Linked DNA regions of Homo sapiens: regions 1, 3, 4, 5, 6 and 7 are each linked to region 2. The links are contacts of gene promoters, found by promoter capture Hi-C in blood cells and fetal thymus (Javierre and others, 2016). All regions are on one chromosome and are shown on one strand. The core of a region is centred on a gene start or on the middle of the fragment in contact, and the rest is flanking DNA. Distances in the headings are between cores, read along the strand shown. Region 1 holds the start of TSC22D1 (TSC22 domain family member 1). Region 2 holds the start of SUGT1 (SGT1 assembly cochaperone of MIS12 kinetochore complex). Region 3 holds the start of LRCH1 (leucine rich repeats and calponin homology domain containing 1). Region 4 holds the start of ZC3H13 (zinc finger CCCH-type containing 13). Region 5 holds the start of TPT1 (tumor protein, translationally-controlled 1). Region 6 holds the start of DIAPH3 (diaphanous related formin 3). Region 7 holds the start of COG3 (component of oligomeric golgi complex 3).

The links. Contacts are between HindIII fragments. The CHiCAGO score rates a contact against its expected background, and 5 or more counts as called.
Region 1: a contact is called between the fragment with the promoter of TSC22D1 here and the fragment with the promoter of SUGT1 in region 2, in 3 of 17 cell types (naive CD8 T cells, activated CD4 T cells and total CD4 T cells). The highest score is 7.6, in naive CD8 T cells.
Region 3: a contact is called between the fragment with the promoter of LRCH1 here and the fragment with the promoter of SUGT1 in region 2, in 1 of 17 cell types (naive CD8 T cells). The highest score is 5.4, in naive CD8 T cells.
Region 4: the fragment with the promoter of ZC3H13 here is called in contact with the fragment with the promoter of SUGT1 in region 2 in 2 of 17 cell types (non-activated CD4 T cells and total CD8 T cells); the score reaches 8.9 in non-activated CD4 T cells.
Region 5: the fragment with the promoter of TPT1 here is called in contact with the fragment with the promoter of SUGT1 in region 2 in 1 of 17 cell types (non-activated CD4 T cells); the score reaches 5.5 in non-activated CD4 T cells.
Region 6: a contact is called between the fragment with the promoter of DIAPH3 here and the fragment with the promoter of SUGT1 in region 2, in 2 of 17 cell types (total CD8 T cells and naive CD8 T cells). The highest score is 6.7, in total CD8 T cells.
Region 7: the fragment with the promoter of COG3 here is called in contact with the fragment with the promoter of SUGT1 in region 2 in 3 of 17 cell types (monocytes, total B cells and naive B cells); the score reaches 13.9 in monocytes.

The regions. Positions count from the first base shown.
Region 1 is chr13:44,574,975-44,577,674 of GRCh38, forward strand. TSC22D1 (TSC22 domain family member 1) reads right to left here and starts at 1,356. Exons shown (of 3, transcript NM_183422.4): 1 at 1-1,356. The coding sequence starts at 1,100. It overlaps TSC22D1-AS1 (TSC22D1 antisense RNA 1), which reads left to right and starts at 922. Exons shown (of 3, transcript NR_038381.1): 1 at 922-1,296; 2 at 2,068-2,203. RefSeq lists an enhancer at 829-1,068 and silencers at 1,389-2,098, 2,109-2,348, 2,619-2,700. The HindIII fragment of the contact is 6,017 bases long and covers 1-2,700 here.
Region 2 is chr13:52,651,532-52,654,231 of GRCh38, forward strand. It overlaps SUGT1 (SGT1 assembly cochaperone of MIS12 kinetochore complex), which reads left to right and starts at 1,305. Exons shown (of 13, transcript NM_006704.5): 1 at 1,305-1,427; 2 at 1,515-1,572. The coding sequence starts at 1,390. SUGT1-DT (SUGT1 divergent transcript) reads right to left here and starts at 776. Exons shown (of 1, transcript NR_170300.1): 1 at 1-776. RefSeq lists enhancers at 606-945, 1,055-1,556, 1,666-1,785 and a silencer at 1,036-1,305. The HindIII fragment of the contact is 4,517 bases long and covers 1-2,700 here.
Region 3 is chr13:46,551,693-46,554,481 of GRCh38, forward strand. It overlaps LRCH1 (leucine rich repeats and calponin homology domain containing 1), which reads left to right and starts at 1,478. Exons shown (of 20, transcript NM_001164211.2): 1 at 1,478-2,011. The coding sequence starts at 1,705. RefSeq lists silencers at 1,422-1,611, 1,672-1,731 and enhancers at 1,935-2,635, 2,292-2,611. The HindIII fragment of the contact is 3,547 bases long and covers 323-2,789 here.
Region 4 is chr13:46,051,326-46,054,025 of GRCh38, forward strand. ZC3H13 (zinc finger CCCH-type containing 13) reads right to left here and starts at 1,421. Exons shown (of 19, transcript NM_001330564.2): 1 at 1,079-1,421. It overlaps CPB2 (carboxypeptidase B2), which reads right to left. Exons shown (of 11, transcript NM_001872.5): 11 at 1,861-2,473. The coding sequence ends at 2,289. CPB2-AS1 (CPB2 antisense RNA 1) reads left to right here and starts at 1,523. Exons shown (of 3, transcript NR_046227.1): 1 at 1,523-1,640. RefSeq lists enhancers at 605-1,141, 1,142-1,677, 1,207-1,376, 1,387-1,586. The HindIII fragment of the contact is 2,282 bases long and covers 55-2,336 here.
Region 5 is chr13:45,339,927-45,342,626 of GRCh38, forward strand. TPT1 (tumor protein, translationally-controlled 1) reads right to left here and starts at 1,257. Exons shown (of 6, transcript NM_003295.4): 1 at 1,116-1,257; 2 at 786-859; 3 at 68-258. The coding sequence starts at 1,143. It overlaps TPT1-AS1 (TPT1 antisense RNA 1), which reads left to right and starts at 1,419. Exons shown (of 11, transcript NR_024458.1): 1 at 1,419-1,461. It overlaps LOC124903169 (a long non-coding RNA gene), which reads left to right and starts at 1,508. Exons shown (of 2, transcript XR_007063781.1): 1 at 1,508-1,704. RefSeq lists enhancers at 327-1,116, 2,696-2,700 and silencers at 1,014-1,083, 1,164-1,273, 1,434-1,633. The HindIII fragment of the contact is 2,255 bases long and covers 1-2,006 here.
Region 6 is chr13:60,162,632-60,165,331 of GRCh38, forward strand. It overlaps DIAPH3 (diaphanous related formin 3), which reads right to left and starts at 1,297. Exons shown (of 28, transcript NM_001042517.2): 1 at 956-1,297. The coding sequence starts at 1,135. LOC105370227 (a long non-coding RNA gene) reads left to right here and starts at 1,426. Exons shown (of 2, transcript XR_942001.2): 1 at 1,426-1,568. RefSeq lists an enhancer at 1,686-1,735. The HindIII fragment of the contact is 7,568 bases long and covers 1-2,700 here.
Region 7 is chr13:45,463,462-45,466,217 of GRCh38, forward strand. COG3 (component of oligomeric golgi complex 3) reads left to right here and starts at 1,478. Exons shown (of 23, transcript NM_031431.4): 1 at 1,478-1,749. The coding sequence starts at 1,576. The HindIII fragment of the contact is 5,472 bases long and covers 1-2,756 here.

The DNA.
Region 1 (2,700 bases), core at 106-2,605, 8.1 Mb before region 2:
ATGCCACTCAAGATATTCACATTAACACCACTGGTAACTCCAGGCCCAACACTCACACCAGCAGCACTAGGAATATTGCTTGTACTTATATTAACATTACCAAGCATGCTGCTTGTCACATTAGGATTAAAACTACCCACAGCAGTAATGTTAACATTATTTACTGTACTAGTGCCAGTAACAGAATTTATACCTATTCCACCTGTAGTACTTGGAGCACGCATATTAGTCATTACAGATGCAGGTGAACCACTGGATGATACAGCAGAAGTTGGTGCAACTGGTGTGATACTGTCAGAGCTTCCAGTTGTAGAGAGTTTTCTAGATACTGGGCTTGAGGGTGGCCCACCAGTAATGGATGCACTGGCCACAGCAACATGAGATGGATGGTGGTGACCATGTTGGAGGTGGTGCCCATGATGAATCTGATGGTGGTGATGGAGGTGGTGTGGATGAGCATTCCCATTGATCACAACATTCTGTTGTGGAAGGTGAGGCAAATGAGGCTGAGGAAGGTGGGGCTGGTTGGGAGAGACTGCCCCAGGTGTCTCGGCTTCCTGGAAGTTATTTAGGGTCTCTTCTGAGGAGCTGCGTTCGGGCTCCCCTAAGTCAGTAGCCCTGGAAAGTGACACATCAAGGATCTCCGAAGAAGAGAGATCTTCCGTGTGAGATTCATCCAGATCATCATAGCTCTCAGTGTCCTCTGCTATACTGTTGTTAGAGCTGATACTAGCGGAGATCTGAGCAGGAGTAACGCTAGTTATCTGGAAGCCACTTTTCTTTTTCATTTGAGTTCCGCCTGGCGCAAGAGGCTGTGCCTGCAGCTGAGCCTGCGAAAGGAGGTTCAGGCTTTGTGGAGGCGGAGGCTGTGGTCCCGACGTAGAAGATGCTGCAGGGGGCGGCGGCTGAAGCAGCGACGGAGGCGGAAAATCCTCGGAAGATGTGGCATTACTACCGACGCCGGTACCTGCTGCATTGAGAGCAGAGGCGCTGCCACTACCGCTGCCCCTTCGAGGGAACATTGCCGGGTGCGCCATCTTCCTAGCGCTAATGTCTGCAGCGGCGGCGGCCGCGGCGGTGGACTCAGGCGGCTGGTGCATTGTGTTGGGTACCGGGGGCGCGGAGGAGACGAGTGCAATTTCCTTCTGCACCGTAATCTTTGTATTGGAGACGCCGGAGAGGAAAACGGGACCTGACGCTCCGCCTGGCGCGATTCCTCCTTCTCCTCCTCCTCAGCCAAAGGCGCCGGTCGCTCCTGCCTTCGAGAGCGAGCTTCGGAAAGGAGGATGAACGAGGGTGAACAGGGCGGCCGGGGACCCGAAGGGGGGATCCCTTCAGTCCTTCGCCATTCACTTTCCCCTCTAGCCTCACACCCCCCTTTATATTCTGCTTCACGTGGGGTGCGGGGCAGGAGGGAGGGGGAGAGCGCAGGAAGGGGAGGAAAAGCGAGAAATGCCCACCTTCTCCGGCCAACTCCGAAGCCGCCTCAGCCCCCTCCTCCCGCCGCGTCGGCGGCCGCTGCAAAGCCCTCCCGGCCGCTCTGCACGGAGGCAGCGCCAAGCAAATGTCGCCTTCCCCTCGCCACCCCCGGGGCCGCCGCCGCCGCCAGCGAGCCCCGAGCTCAGTGTCGCTCAAACCTCCCCTCCCGGCCCCGCTCGGCCCTCCCCCCGCGCCCCGCAGACCCTTTCAAACCCCCTGGGCTCGCGGCGGCTGCTCGGTGAGGAAACGCTGGCCGCGGCTGGGGCCGGGGCGACGCGGCTGCGAGCGGGGCGGCGGCGAGGCGCCCGGTACGGTGAGCCCAGCAACGAGGCGCGGGCGGGCGCGCAGAGACGCCGGGTCCTCGCGGAGCACGGCCGGGGCGCGGCGGCGGCGGTGGCAGCGGGAGCCCAGGGACCGCTCCATCACTGGCAGCCATGGAGCCCGAGCATTTTCCTCCCTCAGGGCAGGCGCCTCGACTCGGCACACGTCCTCGGGGAGGAAGGGGCCGGCACCCGAGCCTCTCCGGAGGGCGGCGGGACGTGCGCTAGGGCGGAGGGTGCGACCCTCTCTTATCCTCTTCCTCCGCAGCCGGCTCTTCCTCACCCCGCTGCTCCCGCGACCGGGCGGGAGAGGGCCGCAGGCGGCGGCGGCTCCTTTCTCCGCGGCGTTGGTGGCCAGACGGGCTGGTGCAGCGACTGCAGCCGACGCCGTTCAAAGGAACGAGGTGGGGTTGGTCGGTGTCGGCAAACGGGGCGGGGGAGTGAGTGGGTGCCGAGGGAGGGTGTCGGGCGGGGAGGGGGCTGTGGTGGTTGTTACTAGTGCTCTTCTTCGGCTCCCCCGGCTCCACCGTATCCCCCAGTCTCTCGCGGCATCGGGAGGGGAGGGACCAGCGCGGAGCGCAGGAGGAGGAGGGGCGACCGCCGGCGAGAGGAGGCGGTGGTGGCTGGGGGGAGGGGGCAGGCGGAGGAGGAGGAGGGAAGATGGCGTCTGCGCATGCGCCTCGGCGCCGCAGACATAAAGCCGGGTCTGGCGGGGCAGGAGGCGGCGGGTCTTCGGGCCTAGGCGAGCGCCAGGTCTCCCGACGGAAATTACCGAAGGCTGGCAGAGGCGCCGAAGCCGGGAGTGGTGGAGCCGGAGGGGATAGTGGGGGTGGGGAATTCCGGCCGAAGGAGCGAATCCGGGTCGGACTGCGTGATTCGGCCCGGTGGGGGCGGGCAGGGT
Region 2 (2,700 bases), core at 55-2,554:
GTTTATTCTTACGAGTAGAATATAAAAAAGTCAAAATGCCATTTAACATTGTATACAAAACACTAAATACTCAAGAATAAATCTAATGAAAGATATATATGATCTCTATACTGCAATCTATCCAAGCACAGCTGCATTAAAATATAGATATATGTGCAATCTACAAAATATTGCCAGGAGAAATTAAAGACCGCTTAAATAAATGGTGGGGGAAGAATGATATTCATGGATTGAAGGACTTGTTGTTAAGATACTAGTTTTCCCAAACAGATCTATAGATTCAATGCGAGCCCAATAAAAAATCCCCCCCCTTTTTAACAAGCTAATTCCAAAATTCACCTAGAAATACAAAGGCCGTAGAATAAGCCAAAACAATCTTGGGAGAATAAGTTACAGGACTTAAAGATTTATTATAAAACTACATTAAATTAACATAGTTTGGTACTGGTATAAAGTTAGACAAAGACTACTCCCTCCCGCTCCTCAATCTGCCCCCATCCCTAGAACGTGCTGGCAGCTTTCTCCATCCGATCTGCAAGGGTTAAAGGGCGCTGAGGAAGGGCTGACCGACTGGGGTGGGAAACAAAGCGGCACTGAGATAACTTCAGGCCACCTTCCTCCCCTCAGTACCTTCGGATGAAAGGTTTCCCTTCTTGGTCTGGGAAGCCCACTAAGAAGAAAGCCTGGGCTGTGGCGTTCTGGGGAAGTGAATAGTACGGCCGCCGGGCGCGTCGCCCCAGGAACCAGAAGGCTTTTTGCCGCTATTAGTGCAGAATGACTTCCGGCAAGTCCCAGTCGTTTAGAATCCCCAGCCCAAAGATCGCGGGGATCCACGCGTCATCCGGGCCTCTGCTCCCGGAAGAGACCACGCAGCCGCTAAAGACGTAATGGAGGCGAAAGGGCTTGGCTAGCTGTGGCAGCCATGATAAAAACTAGGGAAAATGGGAGCTCGAAGTAGCTTCCGTTATTAACAGACATACAAACGCCCCTAACCGCCACACGTTCCTTAGGGATGACAGTACGTTACAAAAGTGCTTCTAAAGTACTACTGAAAGCTCCGTGGGAGTGCCCGCTGGCGTGGGCGCGGTGGAAGGGAGGAAGAACGTGTACGCCCCAGGCCTCCGTAACCATGGCTGCGAGGGGCGGGGACTGGGAGCGCGGGTCCTGGGCCGGGGTGCGGCTGGGAGGAATCGGTCCTCCACTGTCCCAGCCGGCCCCGCGCCGGCGTGTCGCCTCCCGTCCCCCTAGCAGCACGCTGCGTGGCTGCTCGCTGGCTATTTAGGACGGAAGCTCGGTTGGTGTTTCTCCAGAAGTTTCCCCCTTGGGCGGTGGTGGAGGTGGTAACCGTGATAGTAGCAGCTCCGGCGGCAGCAACAGCGACTACGAGGGATGGCGGCGGCTGCAGCAGGAACTGCAACATCCCAGAGGTGCATGTTTTTCTTTCCCTTTGGTATTTATTTTATCCCCCTTTCCTTGGCTAGTGAGCCCTGCTGAAGTCGTTGTTTTCCTGACAGGTTTTTCCAGAGCTTCTCGGATGCCCTAATCGACGAGGACCCCCAGGCGGCGTTAGAGGTGAGAGAGCCCATTTCTGCTTCCTCCACTCTTCTTAGGGGAGCTGGGCCACTTCGGGTCCCCGCTGACCCGCCTTCTCCCCGCACCGCCGGACAGGGACCCAGGCTCTTGTTGATGCTGCGTCTCAGCTCCGGTATTGAGATTCTCCGTCTCTTTTCTCTGTTACACGGTAGCCGCGTTACCCCAGACTCCTGTCTTGCCCTTTCCACTCCCTACAGCTCCTGAGAAAAACCTCCTCTATTTCTTGGGAGCATGGTTGGCATTTGTAGTTTGGCTGAAAGGATTTTTTTTTTAATGACATTTATGATTAGAGAAGTGGACTCTGGGCTCGATGAAGTTAATTTTTTCGTTTGACAATAATTCTTGCCATTCTTACGTAAAAGTGTCGGTATGAAGTCAGTCTACTGGAGCAAAACCCTTTTCCCTCACGTCCCTGAAACTTTCCAGATGTCTTATCACAATTCATTATTCACTCATTTGTATATTCATCAAAATTTTTTTTTGGAGTGGCTGTGTGCAAAGGCGCTGATTGCTGTGGGTTAAAGTCTTGGTTATATACTCAGCTAACCTAGAAATCACTTTTTGTAGGTGTGCAATGAAGGCAAACCATAAAGCTGTAAAGGAATGTAAAAGATCAAGAGTTAAATAATAAGAATTAAAGGAGAACCTAAAGATAAATGATGCTGCGGGTCACAGAATTTAGCCAGGAGTTTTTGTTTGTTTTTGCGTTAAATCACAGAAAAGAGGAAACCTGTTTTGCTGTTACGTTTAACAATTTGAGGCAAGACAGCGTCTTTTCTAGCTATGACTTTTATAAGAAATGTGCCACATGGTACTAGAGCCTCCGTTGAGGAGATCTTTGAGTGGAGATTTGAAGGAACAAGGGAATTAACTTGGAAGCTCTGGGGAAAGAATATTCCAGGCAGGACCAAGAGCCAGTGCAGATCTTGAGGTAGGAATGAAGTTGGCCTGTATGTGAAGCAACAAAAAGGCCCTTTTTATTAGAGGGCCCATTTGATTAAGAGAGGTTGGACAGGAAACTAGGAGCCAGGTCCTATAAGGCCTTTTAGGGTCCAGGTGTGTTTTTTACACCTAAATATATAGACCTTTAGATACTGGGAGTAAGGC
Region 3 (2,789 bases), core at 228-2,727, 6.1 Mb before region 2:
TGCTTTGCTCAGGGCCAAGAATCCCGCAGGAATTAAGGGCAACTATCTGTGCAGTCAATTCAAGTGACACAGATCATGCCATACTTAAGTGCCGAGTCCATGAAGTCACCAGTTCCAGCCTGTTGTCTAGGCCATCAAACTTATGTATTACCACTTAAAAAACCAGCTCCCCTACTCCAAGGGTTGCATTACTTTCGTGCTTGACACCCCGACAACCCCGCACCCACCCCCCGACTCATTTTCCCCAAGCCAAGTCGCTCATAGGGGACAATCAAGCCTTAAGAATAGAGCAAAAATAAAGGCCCTGGAAAGTTGGACATGAAGCTTTAACTTCAGGAAAGGAATGGTATTCTATTAATCGTCCAGCTGGTCTGCCCTTAGGGTGTCAGATGTTCTCTGTCGCCCCTGGTGTGCCAGCATTGGCCTGGGTGCCACTGGGTGGCTGATGGCAGAATGTGAATTCACTTGCAAGCGGACATGTTCGTTTCCATGCCCCAAAGCGGGAAGAAGAAGGGCACAAGGAGACTTCGATGGTTCTTTCAGCTCAGACTCGAGCTGTGACTGATTTGCTGTTTGGGGTCACTGGCTTTCTAGCCTCTCCTGGCACCACCCAATTTCGGGGAGCAGCCAGCTCATCTTTCTCCTACGACAATGTCTTCTGTCCCCCATAAACACTGCCCTCATTTTGAGTTTTTCTTTCCTATGTCTGTAGCTTTCTTCTGCCGCTCAGCAAACACTCTGTCCCACTCGTATTCGTCCCTTGGCGCTGGCGTCTGGCCCAGGGGTACACTGTGAAGGAGGGCAACCCTAGATTCTGAGGGCCCTAGCTCGAATCTAGCGCCCCTCTAACTGCAGGGGTGACCTTAGATACATTTATTAACTTCCTCTGTAGACTCAGGGGAACAACTTTGGCACTCCTGGGGTCCCTGGATTAATGAGGTAACTTACGTAGACTCCCTAAACAAGCGTCTGGTTCATTGTAAGCGCCCAAATGCCAGGGGGCATCTGCAGGGATGACCCCATAGTGAATGAAAACTGCCTCTTGGGGATCTCTGGGTTAAACGGCCAGAATAAATCGCAGAATTGAGAGAACCCTCTCCTGCCCCAAACCTCACTGTACTGTAAATCCCATTCATTGCCTCCCGCCGTTTTATCCGTGTTCTCAGACCACCCCCCTATCCCCGCAACCTCCAGTCCCCTAAAGCCTCCTGGGCGGCAAAAGGACGCCCAGAGAGAGGTTCGGCGCCTCAGTTGCCCCGGAGCAGACGTCCAGCCCCGCCGTGTACCCGATTGCGGGGCGGATCGCGGCAAGGCGGCGGCGGCCGGCAGAATAGGCGCGGAGGAAGGCTCAGGCGGGGCAGACTGCGTGGGGGAAGGAGGAGGAGAGAGCAGACGGCGGAGGAGGGCAGAGCAGCCGGGGGGAGGGCGCAGGGGCGGGAGGAGACACATGCGCGCTGCCGCCGCCGCCGCCGCCGCCGCAGTCCTTAGCTTCCCGGGGACAGGAAACCTTCAAGACCGAGCTGCCACGGCCGCCTCCCCGCCCGCCCCCCATTCTACGCGCCTGCCCACACCCTCCTCCCCTCCTTCCAGCGCCTTTCGGTGGAGCACTGCGGCACTCAGCCCGAGCTGCCGTTTTCCCCTCGCGGGGAACGCTGTGACCCCCCCGCAGGAGCGGCGGGGCGGGGTGGGGGGGCCCGGGAGAAGATGGCGACGCCGGGAAGCGAACCCCAACCTTTCGTCCCGGCCCTTTCGGTAGCTACTCTGCACCCACTTCATCATCCCCACCACCACCACCACCACCATCAGCACCACGGAGGAACCGGCGCCCCCGGCGGGGCGGGTGGTGGCGGCGGTGGCAGCGGGGGCTTCAACCTGCCCTTGAACCGGGGTCTGGAGCGCGCGCTTGAGGAGGCGGCCAACTCCGGGGGGCTGAACCTGAGCGCCAGGAAATTGAAGGAATTTCCCCGTACCGCAGCCCCCGGGCACGACCTCTCGGACACGGTGCAGGCAGGTGAGTGAGGGCCGAGGGGCGGGCAGGGGTGTGGGTGCTGTCTGGGTGTCTGTCGTGCGTTCCCTAACGCGGTGGACAGTCGGAGATCTTGTCTTGCTGGGGGAGGGAGGGTCCATCGGCCCGTTGTCTCCCGAAGAAGGGACTCGCGTGGGCGCGGAAGAAGCGGGCCCTGGAGAGGGCACGGGGGCCCTGCCTGGTCCGGCGATGCAGTGCCAGGAGGGCAGGGGTGCGCCGGGCCTCTGCGCCTGAGAGCGAGGGGTCTCCGGCTCTCCACCCTGTGGCTGCCGCGCCAGGGAAGTAACCGCGGGGCTGGGACTTGCAGGCGCGCCGCGTGCGCGCAGTGTAAGTGGGAGGTTTCAGGCGGCTGTGTCGGCTTCCTGGGCCCCGCGCAGGGCTGGGAACTCCAGCGCGGACAGCGGCGTCGGCGCCTCCAACCAGTTCAAGCCGTCTTTGCATCGAGGCGTAGCCCATCCTGGTGGGGAAACCCAGACAAAGGTGGCACGCCCTCGGCCGAGCCAGGGGCATCGGCGCAGTGCCGCGAGCCCCCTCGGCGACATCGCCGAGCGATCGGGCAACTCGGTGCCGCCTGTGAGGTGCCCAAGTTTCCTCTCCCTGCGCTTGTGCGGGAAAAGAGCCGCCGGGCTTGTAGTGAATCCCAGTCGGCTGCCGCTTCGGAAGCGATCGGCCCTCTTCCTTCCGTGCCTTTTGCTCACCGCCCACACAGTTTGGGTCCTACCACCGAGGCTACCTGGTTCTCAGTTACCCAACCGTTGCGGGG
Region 4 (2,700 bases), core at 171-2,670, 6.6 Mb before region 2:
GAGTGAAAGCCTTAGTTTCAGAGTGCAACTATTTTTAAAGCCGCAATTGTTACAAGCTTGCATCAACTTTGCTAGTCTCTAGTTGAAACTGTCATCTGTTATAATCTAAATAGTTCATTAAGAAAATAAAAATTATTTGAAAATCTATAGATTGTATTCACAAAACGCTCCAATATATTGTACTAAAGCCAGTAATTTCAAATGTTACAGAACTAGACCCCGCTAACTGGCACCATATACCCATAGACTGAACTGCATAAGTATTTATTCTCCAACGGTATCGCGGACTTCGAAAACTTGAGGTGTAAAGATGTTTTCCAAATTTTTAAAACTACTTTAAAAATCCAAAAATCTTAAGAGACTTCATACTCCCATAATTTTCAAAGTAGTTCGAATTACCTGAAAGCCCCATAGTATAACCAAATACCTTAAGACTACCCTTCACAAACAACATCTTACCAACATAATTCAAGTATTATCAACTCTAAATAATTTTCAAACCACATAAATTGCGTTAGCCTATTACAGAGAGATAATGCCGCCAAACAGACTCTCTTCTTTCTATTCCACTTTCCCCCGTTTCTGACAGTTGCCAAAACTACCTACCTAAGGCTTGTGAAGATAAAGTAGCACTCAATTCCCAGGACCTAAATCGTTATCACTGCTGAGGGAAAAAAAAAAAAACAAGACCAATCACAAGTAAGATGTTTTTCTCTAACAGATCTGGAATGAGTATAGAGGAAGATTCTAAATTTAAGCCCAAATTGCTGCACCCTTCCATCGCACACAAATACGAACACCATACAAGGGTTCCCGTGCTTACATCAAATGGTAACGAGGGGTACAGCCTATTGTCTGAGTCTACTTATCGCCCTTAGACAAATGCCAGAATCATAATCAGAGTGAGAAATTACGCCTGAGCACAGGGGGCTATTGCAGAGTTAAGGGTGGGATGCTCAAGGAAAGCTCAAAATCCCAGTGACTCAAGCAAAGACGGGGGGGGGTAACCCGGGCCTCCGCATTACGGGTCCGCTCAATGCCTTCCCCAGATACCCACACCAATTCACAGAACGCTTACTTCCTCCCCAAGCTCCCTTCGCAAGTGCAGTCCGGAGGCACCACCGCCGCCGCCGCTCCGAGGAGCGGGGGAGGCGACTCTGTCCCCGCGCCTGGACCCAGGAGGACGACGACGAGGAGAAAGCGATGCGCGCGCGGCTCCCGGGAACCGGCTCTTGGCTAGCGAGGAGCCCCCGGGATGGCTGAGAAGCAGAACCAACCCGCCCGCCGCCTCTCCAGGGTCAAGCGAAACTGGGTCGCAGGAAGAAAAATAACGAAGAGATTGTAGATTAAGAAAAGGCAACAAAAACACTACCAGGCCGCTAGGAGGACCGCCTCAAAATGCCGCCGGAAGTCAGAGGTTTGCCCTGTTCCTCTGTAGACCCAGGCAGCTTCCGGCCGTCAGATTAGTCGTCAGTGCGCAGACACCACCCTTCGTGGACACGCCCTCTAGGCGTAAGGTTCCATGCGAGCGGTAAGAGTGCGGCGGGACTTGGAAATCGAATCTGTGCTCTGTGAGAGATCCTAGGAAAGGAAACTGGGAGCCCGGGAGAACTAAAATTCCCAATTAAAAGTGAATTTAAGTGAGTTTTCTCTTTTTATTACATAATTCCTTACCATAAACAGCTGTTGTAAATGCGCAAAATGCGGCATTTGTTGACAGTACCTAGAGCCACTCATTCATTCGTTCAACAGTGTTTATTGAGCAGCTGAGCTGGAATGAGAGGCTATGTTTGTCGTTTTTGACACCCCTCCCCTTTCTGGGCCATCGCCTAATTACCGTGGAGCAAACGGAATGCATGGTTGTATTTCTAAAGGCACAAGCAGAAATTTATTGAAAATTTGGAGCAGAAATCTTTAATGTACTTCTGACCACCCTTCCTTTTGTTGAGTAGGATCCAATGATCAGCGTGAGATGATCATTGATTAAACTTGCTTGAGATGGCTAGTCAAACGTCGAAACTTGCTTGAGATGGCTAGTCAAACGTCGAAAATCAAAGAAAAAGTAGGTAACTAGACTTTTACAATTTTTTTTAAAGGGTAAAAAGACATGAACCCTAGTCTGCCTTAATGGCAAAGTAGCACTTATTAGGTTCTCTGACAGAACCAAGGAATAGGAAAATCTTTTATCAAAACTACGGATAAAACTTAAAAATAATTTGATACAATGATTTGGTCTTGCTGGAATCAGTAAATTAAAATACGGAAGCAGAATGATAAAATCAGGGGCATTAAACATTCCTAATGACATGCCAAGCTATTTTAGAGACAGCGGCAAAAGCTTCTCTACAGGTGGGTTTGATGTAACGCTCCGGCAGCAAGAATCCGTATGTGCCCGTATCTCGAAGTTCAATTGTAAACGAATATTTGATGCCCAAATCATAGATCCAATCGTCCCCACCTCCAGGAGCTAGGTCTAAAAGAAGAAGAAAGAAATTGTTGAAATACAGACGTTTCAAATTAATTTACAAACTGGGAATTGTTTGATTTAAATGTTTATTTGTTTGTATACCTTTAGATTTTTTTCAGTTTTTAACTAATATAAACAACTTTACAATGAGTACCCTTGTTTATACATAATTGCTTCTTTGTCTCTTTAGAATATTCTTCCCTAGAATAGATTTGCTAGTCTAAGGCTCTGTA
Region 5 (2,700 bases), core at 7-2,506, 7.3 Mb before region 2:
AAAGTTAGCCAATCTTTAAATCCTGTAAGATTCTAGACATCAGCTAGGTACTGCCAGTATCACTTACGATTTCATGTAATCTTTGATGTACTTCTTGTAGGCTTCTTTTGTGAAACTTGTTTCCTGCAGGTGATGGTTCATGACAATATCGACACCAGTGATTACTGTGCTTTCGGTACCTTCGCCCTCGGGGCCTTCAGCGGAGGCATTTCCACCAATGAGCGAGTCATCAATGTTACCTTCTGTCCTACTGACCATCTGCATTAAGAAAAAGCAGTATAATTGCAAAAGACACAAACGCATCCAAAGCACCTTCCACGCCAATAGTTCACGGATAAGAAGTATTCTTAGTTCTTGCTGAAAATAAAAAAAGCACCATTTTGGGAATAAAGTTGTGACCCGTGGATTTCTCAAAACGACCTAACTTAAAAGAGTTGTCTGTTGGCCGGAACAAAAAATGGGGTCATTAAAAAGTTGTTTCCAGTTGCGGGCATGTGATGCCTCCGGTTGGTAAGTGGGGACAGGACAAACACGAAAGGACTCCAGGCTCCTAAGCCGGAAGCATCATGTCCCGGACAACCCCGGGAGGAGGATGGGCGCCGAGGCGGCGGGCCTATTTCCAGGATCAGCTCCGCCTCCAGTTTTCTAGAAAAACCCAAGCCCGGAAAGAGCGTCTCCTCCGCCAGGAGGCGGCGGGGAGGATTGCACAACCTCAGGCGGGGGAGCGGAGGAAACCCGAGCCCGCTCGGCCCGGACTCCCCCACGCGCAGGCCCGACCGACTCACCTTCCCCTCCACCTCCAGGCACAACCCGTCCGCGATCTCCCGGATCTTGTAGATGTCGGAGAACATCTCATCGTCTGCCGGATACACAGAGCCGCCCATCACCGTGCGCCTGGCGCCGCCATTTCCCGCATTTCCCGCGCCGGCGGCCGCACGCGGGATCTGCCCCTCCGTAGCACACCAGAGCTGGGCGCGAGCCCCGGGCACCGACCCCTCCGCGCTCGGCTAAGACCGCCGGCGTCCCCTAGGCCCGCGACGGCTGCGCCTTCCCCGCCCCCACCCGCACCCCAGACCCCCGTGTGCGGCAGTAAGGATAGTGCAGTGAGGACTCACGGCTGATGAGGTCCCGGTAGATAATCATGATGGCGACTGAAGGGAGACGACGACGGCGCTAGCTTAGCACGAGCCTGAAACTCGGAGCGAGCGCGGTGCAGCCGGAGCGGCGCTCGGGGGGAGGGGGGAGCGGGCGGAAAAGGCCGACTCAGCCGCTCCCCAACCTCATATAGAGGGCACGTCCCTCTACGTCATCGCCCGCTGCGCCTCCGGAAGCGACGCAGGCGGTGACGTGGCACGAAGAGCCGCGCGGGGGCGGGGCCACAGCGGGGGCGAGTCGGGGAGGTGAGCATCCGGGGACTTGAGGCGGAGACACAAGGCTCCGTTCCACTGGGCACGCCAGCGGGTAGGGGTGGGGGCGGGGAGGTGCGCGCGCAGCGTGGGAGGAGGCCAACTCTCGGGGCGCTCCCTAGCCCTGGGTGGGTGGAGCGGGGGAAGCGGAGTACGTTGGACCCGGCTCCGCCCTACCCCACGGGGCCGCCTGGAGAGGTGCTGGGAGCTGGGTGGAGCTTAGAGGAATTAAACTTTGGCCCTGCGCCTCGTCCAGCCTAGGTTCCACCCTTTTCTGGGAACGTGAGTATCAACCAAGGTAGGAGAACGTCGCATTTAGGGAGGGTCAGGCCCTCTGGCCTGGGGTAGATCTCGGGACTGCCCGAGGGCCTCTGACAACTTTTCAGCATCTGCCCCAGGGCTGCCCCAGCTGGAGTTTTTGGGACGCTTTTGTGGGGGCACCGCTGAGTCCGGATAGTGGGACCCAAGTCGTCCTGCTCGGCCCCTGGGGAATAATCGTGTGGGGCGCAAGGTCTGTGGGAAGGGACTTGGAGAGGAGGGAAGATGTCACGGGAGTCTGCACAGGGTTTCCATGTGTTCCAATTTTGTCCCATAATTGAAAGCTTGTGGCATTCTGTGGCGGACGGCTACGGAGCTAGCTCTTCCCTTTACTATTTCGCACTTGGTCTTGGAAAAGTATGTTGTCGCTTTAAGATGAAGTTGAAATTTTATCCCTGGTGCTAGAGGGTCACACAAAGGGAGTTTCCCACCTGCCCCACCTGTTTTTTGAAGGACTTTACACCCAATTACTAAGTATTAAAACAAAACAGGTCCTGCATGGTAGCTCATGCCTGTAATCCCAGAACTTTGGGAGGCAACTACTGAAACCCTGTCTCTACACACACACACACACACACAAATTAAAAATTAATTGGGTGCGGTGGTGCCTGCCTGTAATCCCAGCTATTAGGGAGGCTGAGCTGGGAGGATCGCTTGAGCCCGGGAGTTGGAGGTTACACTGAGCTATGATTGCACCACTGCGCTCCAGCCTGAATGACAGAGCAAGACCTTGGCTCAATAGCAAAACAAAACTTCCGTATTTAGTCACATCGTCACATCTTTGGCATAAGGCAAAGATACATGCCAGTATGAAGTCTGAAAGCTTGTTCTATTTCGCAAATATTTTGTGCTTTGTATCCCTTAGAACTAGGATTTGCACCAAGATTCCAATTGTGAACAAGTTCGATCCAGTCCTACTTATAGAAGTGTTCATTCTGGTAAATCAAAGTATCAGACAATTATAATACATTAACAA
Region 6 (2,700 bases), core at 47-2,546, 7.5 Mb after region 2:
ATCAGAATATGGGCTCTCAGTCTTATTCAACTATTATTTTTAACTAAATGTTATAGTTAGCAACTGGTTCACAAACCATTATTCCCTTAATTTGTGAATCATGACTTAAATTTCTCACAATTTTTACTTGCCCACATAAGGCAAATGCTGTACTCTCTCTCTCTCTCTCTCTCTCTCTCACACACACACACACACACACACACACACACACACAGTTTTTCCATATTCCTAAGGAAAATGGTGGAGTGGTCAATGTGAAATTTCAATTCTGTTGGACTCATCCCAAATCTATCAACCCTCTATGTGATTTATTTACACACACAAACCCCAAAATAATCATCACTGCCTATACTTTCACTAGTTGACACCAACGAAAAGACAAGGTGTTAATCATGACACTTTCCTTAAGTGTTAAACACAAGCAAACCAGAATAGCAAGTTTCAAATATTTAGAATTCTTTCCAAGCTAAGCAAAACATTCTTTAGCAGTGACCACACCACCCGCCAAGTTCTAAAACTAGCTGTTTCAACTTGGAAAATTATATCTACCTTAAAAGTTCTTATATGTAATTAAAAGTTCTTATTAAAATAATAAGCAGAAAAAAAACCTGTCACCTAAAAGTTCATTTTGATATATCTTATACCCTCTTACACTAGGGAGGAAGGGAGAACTTCGACTTAAAAAATGCAATGTCCACCTAGATGACGTCAATACATATACACGTTTGAACTGCTTTTCACATCAGCGTTAAGAAATTTGGGGGCAACACAAAGATCTGGGCATTTGTCACAGGATCCAACTACAACTAGACCCGGTCGTTGTCAATCTATGATCTTTGGCACCTCTGGATCTCTAGAATAAAACTTGGTCCCCAAGTTCTTGTGGGCCCACCCTCGGCAGTCAGCCCTACGGCGGGGCGGGAGCGGCCCCACCCTAGCTCCAGGCGATACTCACAAACTTGGGGCGCTTCTCCCCAGGCTCCTCGGGGCCACTGGGCGGCGGAGGGTGTTGGGGGCCCTTCCTGCGCGGCATCTTGCTTTCCCGGCAGCCGCGGAGAGAGGCTGAGGAAGGGTAGGGAGTCCCAGCGGCTGAGCCTTGGGCCGGGTGGTGCAGCCGCGGCTGGTGCCGTTCCATCTTTCCCCGCAGCTCCGGGGACCGGAAAGAAGGTGGCCACTCAGCAAGCCGCAAGCTGGAAGCTGAGGGATCGACAACAGGTTTTACTCCCGGGGTCCGCCACCCAAACAGTCAGCACAGCCTAGCCCAACCGCTGAAGTCGGGGCCGCAGCCAACACATCTGAAAACTCCCGCCACCCGTGTTGGCCCGGGACTGGCCAATCCCGCGCCGCCGGATCAATGACACGCTGAGGCACCGCCCCTTCCGGGCACTGCGAAACATGATTGGCCTTGCGGCCTGTCTATGCAGCCGCTCAACCCTTCCGGCGGTCCAGGCCGCTCACCTTAAGGACGCAGAGTGGCGTCAGATTTGGAGAAGCGCCGGGGACCGTGGAGGAAGTCATCGGCCTGGATTTCTTTGGATTTGCAGATAGGGTTCCAGCAGAACTGGAAGGTGGGCGAGACAGGCCCTGCGCCACCATTTGAGCAGCGCTGGGATATAAAACCATCTGCTAGCCCTCTCCTTGCACGTCTGGGGCTGGAAAAAGTAGTTCTGGGACTGGGTACGGTGCTGGAAGGGGTACTAGGCAGGATGAAACGACGGGGCCCACGACGCTCCAAAAGGAAGCCTTCTGGACATATTTCCTGCCTAAGTGCTCGCTCTGGGGTGGCAGAGGGGTCCACCCAAAATCAGACAGAGCTAGGCTAGGCTGAGCCCTTCAGGAGCTCACAGTCTCCTGTAGTTTCCAAACCCTAACACAATTAACCAAGGAATGTAAATGTCTATAGCAGTTGTTTTAGAAGTTCCTTGAGAACAAAAAGGGAAGTTATTAAATCTGAAGGAGTGGATCTGGAAAGGTAAAAGGAAAGCTGCATAGGTTTTCACTAGGCAGGAAACAGTGGCAGGGCATTCATTTAAAAGGCATTCCATTCCAGGCAGGAGCAAGGCCAAGAAAGCATAGAGGTGAAGAAACTTTAAGGTCACATAACAAAGGGCCTTGAACTGAAACCATGCAAAAGAGTTTGTTGTGTAAACCCAAGGTCAAGCTACAAGGCAAACACCGTTTTCTCAACACATCAATATACCCTCTTTAAAAATGAGCTTTTCCTTGGAACTATTCCTTTAAGATATCTGTCTTCTGATTATATGGAGGTGGTGTAGGCCAAGACTCGGAAACATGCAGTATTGATTTTGGTACAAGAAACAACTCTAGGTACTCTGAGGAGTTTGGCACAGAGGTTCAAAAAATGAGCCTTAGTTCTCAGTAAGTCTTCACACTACAGCTTTTCTTTTTTAATATTTGTTTTACTGTGCCAGACTCTACAGCTCTGTCCTCAAAGAGCACATAATCTTTAGGGAAACTTACAGGAGAACAGCAAGGTCAGGAGAACTACAAGTAGTTCCTTATATCTTGATGACAGACCCAGATACAGATTTTATTCCTGCCATTTACTAGCTATTTGATACCGGAGATGACGTTTAACTTTCTTTGCTGCTTCATCTACAAAAGGGGGGTAATTATACTAATACCTATGAAAGAGGGGCATTTTCAGGCCTAAATAACATAGCATATGTAAAGCCCTTA
Region 7 (2,756 bases), core at 228-2,727, 7.2 Mb before region 2:
TTGAGACAGAGTTTAGCTCTTGTTGCCCAGGCTGGAGTGCAATGGTGCAACGTTGGCTCACAGCAACCTCCGCCTCCTGGGTTCAAGCGATTCTCCTGCCTCAGCCTCCCGAGTAGCTGGGATTACAGGCATGCACCTCCACGCGCAGCTAAGTTTTTTTGTATTTTTAGTAGAGACGGGATTTCTCCATGTTGATCAGGCTGGTCTCGAACTCCCGACCTCAGGTAATCCGCCCACCTCGGCTTCCCAGAGTGCTGGGATTACAGGTGTGAGCCACTGCGCCCGGTCTCAAATTCTGCTCTTAAAAGATCAGAGCCTTCATTTGGGAACATAGCCAGGCACTGATTTGTGCTATAAAGCCTGAATAAAGCCTTCAGACTTTACCCAGACAATGGTCAAAATTGCTACGAAGCTGTTTCCACCTGCCTTGACTCCAGGGAGGAGCAGGAAGAGGCCTCCATAACTTGTAGAAGATTGTCTGTTCTCCACCATTTATTTATTCAATCGTTTATTTATAGCAGTATGGACTCATGGGTATTTATTTTATTCTGTAAATTATGATCCAATACTATCATTATTTATTTTGTTGCTCAAATCTACAATATGATTTAAATGGTAGAGTAGAATTACATGTCTGTACCACAAATTATTATTATTATACATTTTGAGACAGTCTCACTTGATGCCCAGGCCGGAATGCAGTGGCAAGATCTCTGCTCACTGCAACGTCCACCTTCCAGGTTCAGGAGATTCTCCTGCCTCAGCCTCTCAGGCTGATTACTGGCATGTGCCACCACGCCTGGCTAATTTTTGTGCTTTTAGTAGAGACGGGGTTCAACCATGTTGGCCAGTCTGGTCTCAAACTCCTGACCTCAGGTGATACGCCCACCTCGGTCTCCCAAAGTGCTGAGATTACAGGCCTGAGCCCCCGCGCCTGGTCTGTGCCACAAATTCTTGATCCAGTTCTTCAATGTTGGACATTTAGGTTGTCTCCAGTTATTTGATACCATTAATGATGTCTGAGATACACACATCTTTGAATTTTTTATGTGTTTCCGTAAATTAGTTTTCTAGTAGGGGAATTACTGGATGTTGGAAAAGTTTATGCTTTTGGTTTTGATCCAAGAGGCATAAATTGTCAACATGCCAACATGGAAATCATACACTCCACACATTCTACCCAGACTACCCAGCTGTAAGCAGAGAGGTGTAGATCCAAGTCTCCTGCCGGCAGGGTGATTTAGCGCAGTTGTCAATAATCTGTACAACACGTAACAATAAAGTTATTGATGTTGAGGAAAAGACTTCCGGTAGGGGCATTTCTATTTCCATTGGGTCCTGTCTTCTCCACCTTCTACGTTTCAACCGGAAATAGTCGTACCCATTTAAAGCCACGTCGGTACTGGCCTCGGTCCCGCCCCCCACACTGCGGAACCGTTTCCGGGGTCAGGGCATTCCGTCCCGCCCCGCCGCCGGTGCAGTGTTGGAAGCTCCGGTTCTCCCGGAAGTGGCCCAGGTCTCTCTGTCGGGGTCCCCTCCATCTCGCTGCTGCTGAAGGCCGCGAGGGCGGCGGCGATGGCGGAGGCGGCGCTGTTGCTGCTGCCTGAGGCGGCGGCGGAGCGGGACGCTAGGGAAAAGCTGGCTCTCTGGGATCGGAGACCGGACACGACGGCGCCGCTGACCGACAGGCAGACGGACTCGGTATTGGAGCTGAAGGCGGCGGCAGAGAACTTGCCGGTGCCAGCTGAGGTGAGGTGATGGGCAGGAACCGGGCCGGGGCGATGGGGCTGGGATTCTCCTCGGGCGCCCCGGCAGGACCCCGGCCTCACTAGCCTCTGCCCAGGATATCTCTCCACTCCTCCCTGGCCATGGTGGCGGATCCGGTGGGAGGGGCCTCATCTCCCAGGCTGTCAGGCTTCGCTCTGCCTGCGACCCCGACTCTAATTCTGCCTGGGGACGGCTGTGGGGGTGTCCTGCAGCTGGTGCTCGCCGGAACCCAGTCCTCCCCCAGCAGCATGGGACGGTTGGCCCGGAGCCTTGCACCGAACGTTTTGCCCCAGACGAGGCGTCCTGTCAGCCGAGGCGTAATCCTGCTGCCCACTCTCTCCCAGAAGGAGAGGCAGTCAACCCGAGGTGCTGTGCTGCAGGACAGTCTCCAGCGCGTGCTCGTTTACCGCCTTAATGATTCACCTAGGTTGCTTTGTCCATGGGGGTCTTGGGGAGACCAAAACTTGGTCCTGAGTGAGTTTCATTTATCGCACATTGAACTATGAGCTCTCAATCAAGTGCAAGTTATGGGAGATCAGATTTATTTCACCTATTGCAAAGCAATAAAAATGAATTTTATTTGAAAGTTGGCTCAGTACATTATTAAGCAGTGCTGGTTTTCGGTGTTAGAGTCAATGTGTTTAATCCACTTACCATTAGGATATTATGCACTACTGCTTCTTGTGTGATTCAATTCAATTAGTTGTAATAGCAGGAAGTAACATGAATTGTCAGATGTTTGACAAACGTTTTCCAGTTTTGAGGGCCAGGTTTAGGAGGATTATTTTATATAAGCAGTGGTGATGGTTACTTTTGATGTTGGAAGCATTCTTTTCTCTCGCTCTGTCGCCCAGGCTGGAGTGCAGTGGCGTGACCTCGGCTCACTGCAACCTCCACCTCCCGGGTTCAAGCGATTCTCCTGTCTCAGCCTCCCGAGTAGCTGGGATCACAGGTGCCTGCCACTACACCCGGCTAATTTTTTGTATTTT